2 separate regions of the Homo sapiens genome follow, and region 1 is linked to region 2. The links are contacts of gene promoters, found by promoter capture Hi-C in blood cells and fetal thymus (Javierre and others, 2016). All regions are on one chromosome and are shown on one strand. Each heading gives the region's core, a stretch centred on a gene start or on the middle of the fragment in contact. The rest is flanking DNA. Distances are from core to core; before and after follow the strand shown.

Region 1 (6,766 bases), core at 3,191-5,690, 520 kb after region 2:
AGAACTTTTACAACTCAATAAGAAGACAATCCAGAGGAAAAAAGATGAAAGTCGGGGCCAAAAGAAAGACTTTTCACTGAAACAAAAAACCTCCAAAAAAAGGTTTCAGATGTGGGCTACCTACTCCATGCCAGGCACTGTGCTAAGTACCTTTGACACAATATAGGCATACCTCAGAGATATCACAGGTTTGGTTCCAGATCACCACAATGAAGAGAATATTGCAATAAAGTGAGTGACACAAATTTTTTGGTTTCCCAGTGCAAATAAAAGTTATATTTACTCTATACTGCAGTCTATTAAGTGAAAGCAATGTACATACCTTAATTTCATTATATTTATATTTTTTAAATATATCGAGATAGGGTTTCACTCTATCACCCTCGCTAGAGTGCAATGAAACTGTAGCTCACCCCAACCTTGAACTGCTAGGCCAAGCGATCCTCCTGTTCCAGCGTCCCAAGTAACTACGACTACAGGCATGTGCCACCATGCCCAGCTAATTTTTTTATTTAAAAATTATAGGGCCGGGCACAGTGGCTCACGCCTGTAATCCCAGCACTTTAGGAGGCCAAGATGGGTGGATCATGAAGTCAAGAGTTCGAGACCAGCCTGGCCAACATCTCTACTAAGTCTCTGCTAAGAATACAAAAATTAGCCAGGCATGGTGGTGCATGCCTGTAGTCCCAGCTACTTGGGAGGCAAGGCAGGAGAACTGCTTGAACCTGGGAGGCAGAGGTTGCAGTGAGCTGAGATCGCACCACCGCACTCCAGCCTGGGTGACAGAGCAAGACTCAGTCTCGAAAAAAAATAAAAATAAAAATAAAAAATAAAAACTATAAAGTTGTTATGCTGCCTGGGCTGGTGTCCAACTTGTAGGCTCAAGTGATTCTCCTGCCTCAACCTCCCAAAGTGTTGGGATTACAGGGATGAGCCACCACTGAATATTTTAAGCTCACTGTTGAGACCTACTGCTTAGGAAAAAAGATTCCTTTCTAAATATGACTGCTCATTGACAACGCACCTGGTCATCCCAGAGCTCTGAAAGAGATGTACAAGGAGATTATTAGTGTCGTTTTTATGCCTGCTAACACAATATCCATTTTGCAGCCCATGGATCAAGGAGTAATTTCAACTTTCAAGCCCTATTATTTTAATTTTTAGTTTATATAAGATCAATTCTTATTATTTAAGAAATATATTTCATAAAGCTATAGCTGTCGTAGATAGTGACTTTTGTGATGGATCTGGGCAGAGTAAACTGAAAACATTCCGGAAAGAATTCATCATTCTAGATACCATTAAGAACATTAATGATTCATGGGAAGAGGTCGAAATGTCAACATTAATAGGAGTTTGGAAGATACTGATTTCAACATTCATGGATGATTTTGAGGGGCTCACGACTTCAGTGGAGGAAGTAACATCCTCTTTAGCATCATTCTTAAGGGCCCTAGGATTTTCAGAATGGCAAATCAACACTGGCTTCAACTTAAAGTCACCAGCTGCCTTGGCCCCTAACAAGAGAGTCTGGCTGGGCACAGTAGCTCCCGCCTGTGATCCCAGCACTTTGAGAGGCCTAGGTGGGAGAACTGCTTGAGGTCAGGTGTTCAAGACCAGCCTGGGCAATACGGCAAGACCCCACCTCTAATTTTTTTAAAAGGAAACAAGAGACAGAGTCAGCCTGTCCTTTGAAGCTTTGAAGAATGGCACTGATTTCTCTTCTCTAGCTATGAAAGTCCCAGATGACATCTTCTTCCAACAGAAGACTGTTCATTTACACTGCAAATCTGTTGTTTAGTAGAACCACCTTCAGCATTGATCTTAGCTAGATCTTCTGGATAACTTGCACAGCTTCTACATCAGCACTATGGCTTCCCCTTGCACTTTGATGTTAGAGAGATGGCTTCTTTCCTCAAACCTTGTAAGTCAACCTCTGCTAGCTTCAAACTTTTCTTCTTCAGCTTCCTCACCTCTCTTGGGCTTCAGAGAACTGAAGAGGGGCCTTGCTCTGGATTAGGCTTTGGCTTAAGGAAGTGCTGCGGCTTCTTTGATCTTCTCTCCAGATCACTAAAGCTTTCTCCATATCAGCAAAAAGGCTGGGTTTTGTTGTTAGTGGTTTTTTTGGGTTTTCTTGTTTTTCTTTTTGAGATGGAGTCTCACTCTATTGCCCAGGCTGGAATGCAGTGGCACAATCTCAGCTCACTGCAACCTCTGCCTCCCGGGTTCAAGCAATTCTCCTGCCTCAGCCTCCCAAGCAGCTAGGATTACAGGTCTGCACAACCAAACCCAGCTAATTTTTCTATTTTTAGTAGAGACAGAGTTTTGCCATGTTGGCCAGGCTGATCTAGAACTCCTGACCTCAGGTGATCCACCCACCTTGGCCTCCCAAAATGCTGGGATTAAAGGTGTGAGTCACTGCGCCCAGCCTGTGAGCCATCACACCCGGCCAAAGAGGTTGTGTTGTTTTCTTATCATTCATGTGTTCAGTGGAGTAGTACTTTTAATTTCCTTCATGAACTTTTCCTTTGCATTTACAACTTGGCTGGTTGACATAAGAGGCCTAGCTTTCAGCCTAGCTCGGCTTTCAACATGATTTCCTCAGTAAGCTTAAACATTTCTGGCTTTTGATTTCAAGTGAGAGCCCTGCGACCCTTCCCTTCACTTGAGCACTTTAGAGGCCATTGTAGGGTGATTAAATGGCCCAATTTCAATATTGTTGTGTCTCAGAGAATAGGGAGGCCTGAGGAAAGGGAGAGAGATGGGGGAATGGCCGTCTGTGGAACAGTCAGAACACACACATCATTTACCAATTTAGGTCACTTTCTTATGTGGGTGTGGCTCATGGTGTTCCGAAACAATTTTAAGAATAACATTAAATAGCACTGATCACAGATCACCATAACAGATGTAATAATAATGAAGTTTGAAATATTGTGAAAATTACCAAAATATGACACAGAGACATGAAGTAAGCACATGCTGTTGGAAAAATGGTGCTGACAGACTTATTCAGAGTTGCCACAAACCTTCCATTTGTTAAAAATAACTCCATAATATCTGCAGAGTGCAATAAAACAAGGTATGCCTTTGTATCTATTTCACAACAACCCAAAGCAGGAGGTAATTGTTAACCCCTTATTAACCCCATTTTACAGATAAAGATGAAAAGTTGAAAACATCACATGCTCGCTGGTAAAACAGTGGAAAAGCTGAGATTTGAACCCGGGTCTGAGGCGAAAGTCTGGGCTGTTTCCCAGAGCACCACATCACCTCCTTCCTGTCCACCCCACACCACCATTACCGCCCCACCACCATTATTACCACTCAGCTGCCCACTTTGTAACAAATCCTCTCTGTACAGCCCTCACGGTCCCGCAGGTGGTCTTAACCTCCCGCTGAATATCAGTCCTACCTCCACTCCCACCTTGGCAGACTTTTTTTTCGAGACAGGGTCTCGCTATCTCACCCAGGATGGAGTGCAGTGGTGCGATCTCGGCTCACTGCAGCCTCGACTTCCTGGGCTCATGTGATTCTCCCACCTCAGTCTCCCAAGTAGCTGGAACTACAGTCGTATGCCACCTCAGTCTCCCAAGTAGCCAGAACTACAGTCGTATCCCACCCCACCCAGCTAATTTTTTGTATTTGCAGTAGAGACGGGGTTTCGCCATGTTGCCCAGGCTGGTTTCCAACTCCTGAGCTCAAGTAATCCACCTGCCTCAGCGTCTCCAAGTGTTGAGATTATTGGTGTAAGCCCCGTGCCCAGCCACTGGTGGACTTCAAATCTTCAAAGGACCAGCAGATCTGGAGGGTGATGCAGCAATACCCCACAGGATCCCTAAGCAGGACTCCAGGTCTCTGCTGCATCCCTACTGGGTCCAGCCTTTGGCATGCTCAAGAATACTAATATCAGTTTGTCACAGCTAACCTGACGCTCACCTCATCAGGAAAATCCTTGGGGTGGGGAGAGGTAAAACGGATCCTCATTTCAGGATCTACTCTGGAGACCTGATCCAGAAGATGAGCAAAACGAAGTCCTCCTTGCTTGGTTTTATAGTTGGTGGTAAAGCCACGACTGAGATTGGTAGGCACTGCACTGTTGAACTGGACCTCCGAATTGTCCCGAAAACTATTAACATTCTGACCAAGAAGTGTCACTTCTTTCAGCCCCTAAACATGGGAAAATATATTGGAATTTTAAAACTTTTGGGTAGCTTCATAAAAAAACACTAATTAAAAATTAGCTGAAATTAACATATCTTTTGTTTTAAACAAAAGAAAAATCGAACCTACCAAGAGTCACCTATAAGTGTGTTGTGTCTATAACCGAATAATTTCAAGCTTAGACATCTTACCTAAAGAGCTAAACCTAATAAAGCCTTATATAAAAATTAATCTTCAAAACATTATTTAGAATCAAAACTGGAAACAAACTCAATAATCCACAATAATGGTTAATTTATGATAGATCTGTCATTTGAATGTTATACACCATGACTATATAAAGTATTCTCACCAGAAATATTTAACCTGAACTAATCAAGCTTTTACACCTAACTTCCAGTTACTAGAATTCACAGAGATATATTAAATGACAACATGAGGAAAAAATCAGACAAAGGAGACTCATGTCTGATCTCTTCAAAAAGTTAATGCATCATTTAAAGAAAACAACAACAACAAAAAATAAAAGAGCTGTTTTAGATTTTTTTCTTCTTCTTCTTGAGACAGGGTCTCCCTCTGTTGCCCAGGCTGGAGTGCAGCAGCACGATCATAGCTCACTGTAGCCTCAACCTCCCAGGCTTAAGCAGTCCTCCTGCCTCAGCCTCCCAAGTAGCTGGGACTACCTTTTTTTACTTTTGTAGAGATGGGATTTCACCATGTTGCACAGACTGGTTTTAAACTCCTAAACTCAAGCAATCCTCCCACCTCAGCCTCCCAAAGTGTCTGGCTTAAATAACTATTGATTTTCATACATATGATAATGATATCATGGTTATGAAGAGAAAAATTGTTACTCATAGAAGATACATACTGAAGTATCTAGGGGCAAGTGTCCTGAGGTCTACAAATTACTTCAAATGGTTCAGAAAAAATACATTTATGGGTGCATGGAGATAGGTGTATGACAAAATGTTAACAATCACGTTTTTCTATTATACTAGTCTTTCTATTTGTCTGTTTGAAAATTTATATTATAGGCCAGGTGCAGTGGCTCCCTCCTGAAATCCCAGTACTTTGGGAGGCCAAGGTGGGCGGATCACACGGTCAGGAGTTCAGACCAGCCTGGCTAACATGGTGAAATCCCTTCTCTACTAAAAATACAAAAAATTAGCTGGGCGTGGTGGCAGGCACCTAATCCCAGCTACTAAGGAGGGTGAGGCAGGAGAATCGCTTGAACCCAGGAGGCAGAGGCTGCAGTGAGCCGAGACCATGCCACTGCACTCCAGCCTGGGCAACAGAGCGAGACTCCATCTCAAAAAATAGAAATGTTATATTATAAAGTTTCACAAATAATGGTTGCTAAAAAAGACTTGTTTTGTAACTTTGACATAATTTACAGACAAACTGCAATATTAAAAGAATTCCCATATACTCTTTGCCCAAATTCATCAAATGTTAACACTGCACCCCATTTGTTTATCATTCACATTCAGACACTCATATACACTCTCTCTCAACACACATATGACTACATTTTTTTTAAGCCTTCTGAGAAAAAGTCACAGATATCATACTCTTTTACTTCCAAATATTTTAGTATATATTTCTTAAAAACAAGGGCATTCTCCTATATAATTTCAGGACAATTATCAAAATCAGAAATATTGATACAACACTATTATCTACTTTCCATAAATCAAATGTTACCAATAGTCCAAATAATGTTTTGTTGTTGTTGTTGTTGTTATTGTTGTTTTTTGAGACAGAGTCTCACTCTGTTGCCCAGGCTGGAGTGCACTAGCGTGATCTTGGCTCACTGCAATCTCCGCCTCCCAGGTTCAAGCGATTCTCCTGCCTCAGCCTCCTGAGTAGCTGGGACTACAGGCGTGTGTCACCACGCCAGGCTAACTTTTTGTATTTTTTAGTAGAGACGGGTTTTGCCAAGTTGCCCAGGCTAGTCTCAAACTCCGGAGCTCAGACAATCTGCACACCATGGTCTCCCAAAATGCTAGGATTACAGGTGTGAGCCACCACGCCCAGCCCAAATAATGTTCTTTATAACATTTTTTTCCCTGATCAGAATCCCAATCGAGGACCGTGCGATGCATTTAGTTGTCATAACTCCAGTCTCCATAAAGGCTATTTATTTGTGTAAGTTGTGACATACTGTTAATCTAAAAAGCAGGATATACTAAATGCAATGTGGATCCTAGATTGGATCCTGGAAACGAAGTAAGACATTAGTGGAGAAACTGGCAAAATCCAAATAAAGTCTGAAGAGAGTTAATAGTAACATACCAATATTAATCTCTTAGTTTTTGCTTTGTTTGTTTTGTAATAGAGACAGCAGCTCCCAGTGTTGCCCAGGCTGGTCTTGAACTCCTACGCTCAAGGCACCCTCCTGCCTTGGCCTCCCAAAGTGCTGGGATTACAGCACCAAAAAATGTACCAAAGAAAGATGGCAATGCTCGAGGAAACTCTCTTTGCAACTTTCCTGTAAATGTAAAGTCATTCCAAAACAAAAAGTTTATTAAAAAGTAGGATATAAAACTAAGTAAAATACACACACATATATAAAAAGACATACAAACCAAATGCAGAA
Region 2 (7,704 bases), core at 1,020-3,519:
AATCTGCCTTTTTCTTGAATCGTGGTTTTTTTGTTTTTTTTTTTTTCAAGACGGAGTGTTGCTGTTGTCGCCCGGGCTGGAGTGCTGTGGTGCGATCTTGGCTAATTGCAACCTCCGCCTCCCAGATTCAAGCGATTGTCCTGCCTCAGCCTCCCGAGTAGCTGAGATTACAGGCACGCACCACCGTGCCTGGCTAATTTTTGTGTTTTTAGTAGAAACAGGATTTCACCATGTTGGCCAGGCTGGTCTCAAACTCCTGACCTTGTGATCCACCTGCCTCGGCCTCCCAAAGTGCTGGGTTTACAGGCGTGAACCACTGCACCCGGCCTGAATCATGGTTTTTTGAAACCATTGGCATCTGAACCTGTAGCTCTCTCTGGTAGTGTTGTGTGGTTTTAAATGTCATGTGAGCTGAGTTACTGACCTCAACCTACTGCCAGATGAAGGTGTGATCCTGTGATACCAATCTTGAGGGTCCCTTCTAGTTTTAGCAGTCAGTGACTTCTCTTGTTTATTTTTGTTTGAAAAAGTAAAAGGCTCTCTTTTTGGCTATAGAGTTGCATCTTGAAATTTTTGACAAATTACATAGAGCTGAAGAAGGATACAAGTTTTGATATCTTAAAATCACAGGGTTGAAGCTTGAAAGGACAGTATTGGCATTGCAGCTAAGTGGGAGTGTGAGGAAGCGCCTTCTCTAGGGCAGGTAATTGCATCTGTTAATGTGGTCCTTGGGCCCCTGAGTTGCTGCCTTCCAATCAGAATTCCCTTAGCATTAGCCAGTGACGCCTGAATTAATCTCAGGTAGGACTTCTAACTTTTTTCCAAAATTATTTTTGTGCAGAGGTTTATCTAGATTTTTCTTCTAAATGTCCTCCTCCCCACTTGTTTTATTATTACTGTTTTTTTCTCTCTTTAATTTTTTTTTTTTTTTAATAGAGACATGGTCTCACTATGTTGCCTGGGCTGATCTCAGACTCCTGGGCTCAAGTGATCCTCCTGCCTCAGCTTCCCAAAGTGCTGGGATTATAGGCGTGAGCCATTGCGCCTGGCTCTGTTACTGTTTTTCTAACCTGAGTTACTTAGGATCATATTTTCATTCTTTTTTAAAAAGATGGGAGTTTTCTGAACTTTTCCTTAACTAAAAAGTGGAATGCATCTTAATATTTTCCTTTTTTTACTTGTGTTTCTCCCCAGGGAGGGAAAAACATATTTATTGTGACAGAATTTAGCATATTTTAGGCCACATTAAAATACTGATAAATGTATTAATCAGTGAAAATAGGTTATAGTGAAAAATATATACCATTTGATTAATAAAAATGTTATTGGAAAAATGCAAGAACTGCTGTAAGAATTGCTAACATTGTGTTGGAAAATAAATATACTAAGCTAAGAAACAATGGGAAACTGTCATATGTAGGGCCAACAGCCTTTTTTTTTTTAAACCCTTCCAATTTATTAATATCTAGTCTAATAAACCCTGATTTATAGGACCTCTGCACCTTTTTTGACTTTTTATTCATCCATTCTTAATATTCTACACTATGACAAAATCCTTAAAACTCCATTATTGATGAAATGGGAACAGACTTTTGTTTTTGTATGTTGGTGTTCTCTGAGTGGTGAAGGCCCAGGGAGAATGTTTTGTTTGGTGGTCACTTAGCATTTGAAAACATCCACTTCCTTGTGACTTAGCTGGGTATCTTTTAACATCTGGAAGCCACGTCCCTGATTGAAATCTCTGGAGACAACTTACCTTTCACCAACTTGTCTGCCAAATTGCACCATGGACCAAGATTGCAGTGGCTGCATCAAGTCTAGGCCTGCCCTGAAGTCTGGATTTGTAAGTCCCCCATTTCAAATGGGGCAGAAGGCAGAGGAGCAGAGGAGCCACTGTGCCTTTCGCTGTCCTGGAGCCAGTTGGCCTTCTGGTTTTGGTGAACCCTGCTTTTATAAGAGGACTCCCTGGCATCTTCCAGTTTCCCGCTACTTGTTTTATGTATTATTTTATGTCTGTGTTTGTCCTGGAGTGCTGTAACTCCTTTCACTGTCTGCTGTAAGTTCAACTTCTTCAATAAAAGAAATGTTTCAAATTGGATGAAAAATGGTTCTGTGATTATGGTTTGTGGGACGGGTTCTGATGCTTCATTTATGTTCTTCATACGGAATTCTGTCTCATTTCCCTAGTTCTAAATATGACCAGCAGACCCAGAGTTCCATCTCGACTTCATAAAGGAGCTGTCTTGGACTGGGAACAGCTGCCAATGTCTTTGTTGAGATGGGAGTTGGAAAGTGTTAGCACTTTGCCAGACTTTGCCAGCAAGATTAACTGAGGAGATCAAATTGAGTCAGGGTGAGTGAGGGTTTTAGGTGAAAGTTGCTCTCCAAAAGATTGGATACCTCTGCTGAAGACCTCTGCCTGACCTCCAAGGCTGGAGAGCAGCTCTTATCTGTGTCCTGGCTGGCTTTCAATGCATGTATCCTTAAGTCATCTGCCTCTACAAATTCGTACAAACCACTCGTTCCCCTCTCATCCCTAGCATGTTCCCCTAGTGGCTGCTCTGAATTCTCACCCCTGTTCTGGATGGTACTCTCCCACCTGCCTTGCCCTGCCCCTCTTCCGTCAGCTCCGGACAGGTCAACTTTAGGGAATAGATTGAGGCAGATGGATGTGACTTCTGATCTGACCTGTTCTCCAATTCTAAATATCAACCGAGTTTTACATCTCAGCCTTCCCTTCCTTCCCTTCAGAGTTGGAGGAATGGTACTTGTCTTGGCCTCTCCCCTCTTGCTTTTGCCCTTTTCTTTTGGGTGGTCTCTGTTGGCAGCAACCAGCACTTTTTTTCCCATTTGGCGTTTTACCTCTGTTCATGAACATACATAGAACCACTTTCTCCTGGTGAAAGACATTTATCTTACAAAATATTTAGTTTTGAAATAATTAAAAATATATAAATAGTTGTAAGACTACTACAAAGAACTTCCCTTTGTCCAGATAGACTAATTGTGAACATTTTGCCACATTTGTGTTATTATACATGTTACTTGTTAAACCATTTGAGAATTACAGACATCATGCCCTTTTACCCCTAAATACTTTTCAGTGTACATTTCCTGAAACAAGGACATTCTCATAACCACAATACAGTTATCAAAAGCAGAAAACATTAATATGCTATCTAATAATATAGAGTCCATGTTCAAATTTTACATAATTTCACCAAATAACAGCCCTTGCAGCATTTTTGTTTTTTCCCAATCGGATTCAATTCAGAATCGTGCATTGCCTTTAGTTGTTGGGTCTCTTGAGTCACCTTTCATCTCTAACAGTTCCTTAGCCTTTCTTTGGTTTACATGGCATTTTATTTTGGCCAGGCGCGGTGACTCACGCCTGTAATCCCAGCACTTTGGGAAGCCAAGGCGGGCGGAAAGCACTTGAGGCCAAGGAGTTTGAGACCAGCCTGGCCAACATGGAGAAATCCTGTTTCTACTAAAAATACGAAAGTTAGCTGGGCATGGTGGCGTGCACCTATAATCCCAGCTACTGAGGAGGCTGAGGCATGAGAATCATCAGAATCTGGGAGGTGGAGGTTGCGGTGAGCTGAGATTGAGCCACTGCATTCCAGCCTGTGACAGAGTGAGACTCTCAAAAATAAAAGCAAAAAAAAACCCAGTTATTTTGTAGAATATCCTGTAATGTGGGTTTGTCTGTTTCCTTATGATTAGATTCAGATCATGTATTTTTTTGGCAATAATACTACTGAAGCATTGTGCCCTGCATGTATCGGATCAGGAGGTGTGTGATGGATGTCATTTTGTTCCATCGCTGATGGTGGTAACTTTTTTTTTTTTTTTTTTTTTTTTTTTTTTTGAGATGGAGTCTTACTCTTTTGCCTAGGCTGGAGTGCAATGGCACAGTCTTAGTTCACTGCAACCTCCACCTCCTGGGTTCAAGCGATTCTCGTGCCTCAGTCTCCCGAGTAGCTGGGATTACAGACGTCAGCCATTGTGCCCAGGCTATTTTTTCATTCTTTTATAAAAATTGGCATCATAGTGTGCACCCTTTTCTGCATCTTGGTTTTTTTATTTATTTATTTTTTTGAGACAAGGTCTCATTCTCTCACCCAGGCCCTGGAGTGCAGTGTTGTGATTACAGTTCACTACGGCCTCAAACTTCTGGATGCAGGTAATCCTCCCATCTCACCCTCTTGAGTAGCTGGGACTACAGGGGAGTGTCACCATACCCAGATAATTTTTTGTATGTTTTGTACAGATGGGGTTTCACCATGTTGCCCAGGCTGGTCTCAAATTCCTGGGCTCAAGCGATCTTCCCACCTTGGCCTCAAGTGTTGGCATTACAGGTATGAGCCACTGTGCCTGGCCTGCATCGTGCTTTTCTTATTAGTACTTCATGGAAATCTCTCTTAGCTGCTGGAAGTCAGATTCATCCTTCTGATGTTTGGGTGACGTCCTAGGTGCAGATGCACTGATTTGTTCATTTCTGTGTCTATAATGGTTCACTTTTGGTTTTTGCTCCTATGAATGATGCTGCAGCAATCACTCTTCAACAGTGGCCTTTCACAAAGGAGTCATTTAAATTACTACCCACCATCCTACCCACTCCACTGAAACACATTTTATTTTATTTTTTTGAGACGGAGTTGCGTTCTTGTTGCCCAGGCTGGAGTGCAATGGCACAATCTCGGCTCACCGCAACCTCCGCCTCCTGGATTCAAGCAGTTCTCCTGCCTCAGCCTCCTGAGTAGCTGGGATTACAGGCATCCACCACCACACCCAGCTAACGTTTGTATTTTTAGTGGAGATGGGATTTCTCCATGCTGGCCAGGCTGGTCTTGAACTCCTGACATCAGGTGATCCGTCTGCCTCGGCCTCCCAAAGTGCTAGAAGTACAGATGTGAGCCACCGCGCCTAGCCGTTGAAACACATGTTAAAGATTGCCATGAGCCTGGTGTGGTGGCATGTGCCTGTTGTCCCAGCTACTTGGGAGGCTGAGATGGGAGGATCACCTGAGCCCAGGAGTGCAAAACCAGCCTGGGCAACATTGCAAGACCCCATCTCAAAAGATCGCCATGAACCCTTTTTTAATTAAAATAAAAATCAGAGAATTGCATGATTTAGGCTATAAACATCTTCCATAATCTCACCTACCAGAGATGACTGCTATTAATTTTGGAGTATATGTTTCCAGGCTCTTTTTTATGCATGTGCCAATATGCACATGCATATATTCTTAACAGAAATGAACTTAACATTTTACATACACTTTAGTTTTTTCACTGGTAACCTCTTAATTGCCTTTTTCAGTGGCTGTTTCTTTCCCTTATCACCTTAGGTCACTTTGTAGCGTCCCATTCTCCTAGCTGTCTTGTGTGTTTCTCCCTCTTTCTGTCCTCTAAATGTAGCCACTCCTCAAGTTTCAGTCCCCAGATTTCCAGATACTTGTTTTTATTATTTCTTTTCTTTTTTTTTTTTTTGAGACAGGGTCTCACTCTGTCATCCAGGCTGGAGTGTAGTGGTATGATCTCAGCTCTCTGCAGCCTCAACCTCCTGGGCTCAAGTAATTCTCCCACCTCAGCCTCCTGAGTAGCTGGGTGTATAGGCATGTGCCACCACACCTGGCTAATTTTGGATTTTTTGTAGATGTGGGGTCTCAATGTTGCCCAGGCTGGTCTCAAACTCCTGGATGCAAGCGATCCTCCCGCCTCGGCCTATTTTTTATTCCTAATTGGACAGCCTAGTATCACATGCATTAAAACCACTTTCCCTCTTTGCTCCTTTTTCTGAAAGTGGTTCTGGCATTTCTGTTAGCTTGCTTCTTGGCTTCCAAATCTCCTTCCCTTAGGCTGTCCTCTCTCCTTTGGTCCTTAGGTGTGAGCTGTTGCCAAGACACTGCTAGATTAGAGCATTCTTGGGTACCGTTCAGTCTTCTCCCTCCAGCTTGTACTGATGAATTTTATTTTTTATTTTTTTGGGACAGAGTCTTGCTCTTGTTGCCCAGGCTAGAGTACAATGGCTCGATCTCGGCTCATGGCAACCTCTGCCTCCCAGGTTCAAGCAATCCTCCTGCCTCAGCCTCCCAAGTAGCTGGGATTACAGGAACCTGCCACCAAACCCGGCTAATTTTTTATATTTTTAGTAGAGACAGGGTTTCAATATGTTGGCCAGGCTGGTCTCATTTGAACTGTTGACCTCAGGCAATCCTTCCGCCTTGGCCTCCCAAAGTGCTGGGATTACAGGTATGAGCCACTGCACCTGGCCACTGATGACTTTCATAGTTGCCCTTCATTTTGTTCAGACTGTCTGGCCAGGTATTCAAGATTCTACTTTTTGCTGCCAATTTTTTTTTTTTTCCTTCTCTGCCATGATTCCTCCCTCCCCTCTGCCTCCAGGACCCTTCAGATCAAGCCAAGCTGGCTCAGTTGGTCTGCCCCCTGTGCGTGTCTTGGGCTTAACTATTTCTTGGCTGTCCCCCTGCCATCCTAGAGTGCCCTCTGGACTCTTGCCTGGTGGGACTTGCTGACGAGGTGGATTGGTGCTCCAAAGACCCTAACAAAACGCTGTCATCCATCTCATATGGAGGCCTTGCTGACCCAATAGAAACGTTCTCTTTATATTCCCAGAGCAGAGCTCTGTTCTGTCTGCTCTCCCGAAGTCCTGGCTTGCAAGGGCACTGGAAGGTGGGTGGGGAGGGTATATGCAGTGGAAATGAGGAGCCCTCATTTTTCTAATCTGTTTATTGTACTTGGACTACCACATGGCCTCCTAAGATTCTTCTACTTCTGTAGAAAGTGTGATCCCCTTTAGGAAGCCTCTGGCATTAAGTCAGGAGTAAAGAAACTTGTGAAACCCCATGGCTTCTGCAGGACAACTCCTCTCTATCAGGGGAAGAAAGGCTCAAGTGCAAGCTTGGCAAAAGCTTTTTGCTGGAGAAATCTCTGGGAAAAGGAATGCTCATCCACTGCTCGCTGGGAGTGTCCATGGGCAAGGGGAAGCCACCCTCTCCCTTGACCTTGACTTCTTTTCCACCTTTCTGTGACCTGGCTAAGTCAGCCTTCCACGTGGTCCTTACAACGACTGGAGTTAAGTTGACTATGATTCCCTATTCTAGGTCAAGGCTAATGTCTTCTGAAGACTTAGCAGAGATCCCTCAACTCCAAAAGGTAAGAAAGACAATTATCTGAACTAATAAAGGGTGGGGCATTCCAGAGTCACCCAAAACCTCACTTACCAGCATGGAAGTATAGGTGTTTCTGCATCGGGGAGGGGGTTGCATACTCAGATATTTACTGGGCAGGTAACTTAAGTGTATTTTTTTTTTTTGAGACAGAGTCTCGCTCTGTCGCCCAGGCTGGAGTGCAGTGGCATCATCTTGGCTCACTGAAACCTCTGCCTCCTGGGTTCAAGCAATTCTCTTGCCTCAGCCTCCTGAGTAGCTAGGATTACAGGCATGTGCCACCATGCCCAGCTAATTTTTATATTTTTAGTAGAGATGGGGTTTTACCATGTTGGCCAGGCTGGTCTCAAACTCCTGACCTCATGATCTGCCCGCCTCAGCCTCCCAAAGTGCTGGGACTACAGGCGTGAGCCACCACACCTGACCTAAGTGTACTTTTAAAGGGCTGCCTGAGACTGGGTATGGTGGCTCACACCTGTAGTCCCAGCACTTTGTGAGGTGAAGGCAGG

What was found. The method cuts DNA at HindIII sites, captures the fragments that hold promoters and counts their contacts. A CHiCAGO score of 5 or more calls a contact.
Region 1: a contact is called between a fragment that was not itself captured here and the fragment with the promoter of EFCAB8 in region 2, in 1 of 17 cell types (M1 macrophages). The highest score is 7.6, in M1 macrophages.

The regions. Positions count from the first base shown.
Region 1 is chr20:33,375,522-33,382,287 of GRCh38, forward strand. CDK5RAP1 (CDK5RAP1 mitochondrial tRNA methylthiotransferase) reads right to left here. Exons shown (of 14, transcript NM_016408.4): 8 at 3,940-4,170. Among named protein-coding and RNA genes, the nearest start is that of CDK5RAP1, 23 kb to the right of the region's middle. The HindIII fragment of the contact is 203 bases long and covers 4,340-4,542 here.
Region 2 is chr20:32,856,654-32,864,357 of GRCh38, forward strand. EFCAB8 (EF-hand calcium binding domain 8) reads left to right here and starts at 2,270. Exons shown (of 27, transcript NM_001143967.2): 1 at 2,270-2,353; 2 at 7,130-7,181. The coding sequence starts at 7,140. LOC119746555 (a long non-coding RNA gene) reads left to right here. Exons shown (of 1, transcript NR_171378.1): 1 at 1-2,098. RefSeq lists an enhancer at 2,137-2,949. The HindIII fragment of the contact is 6,288 bases long and covers 637-6,924 here.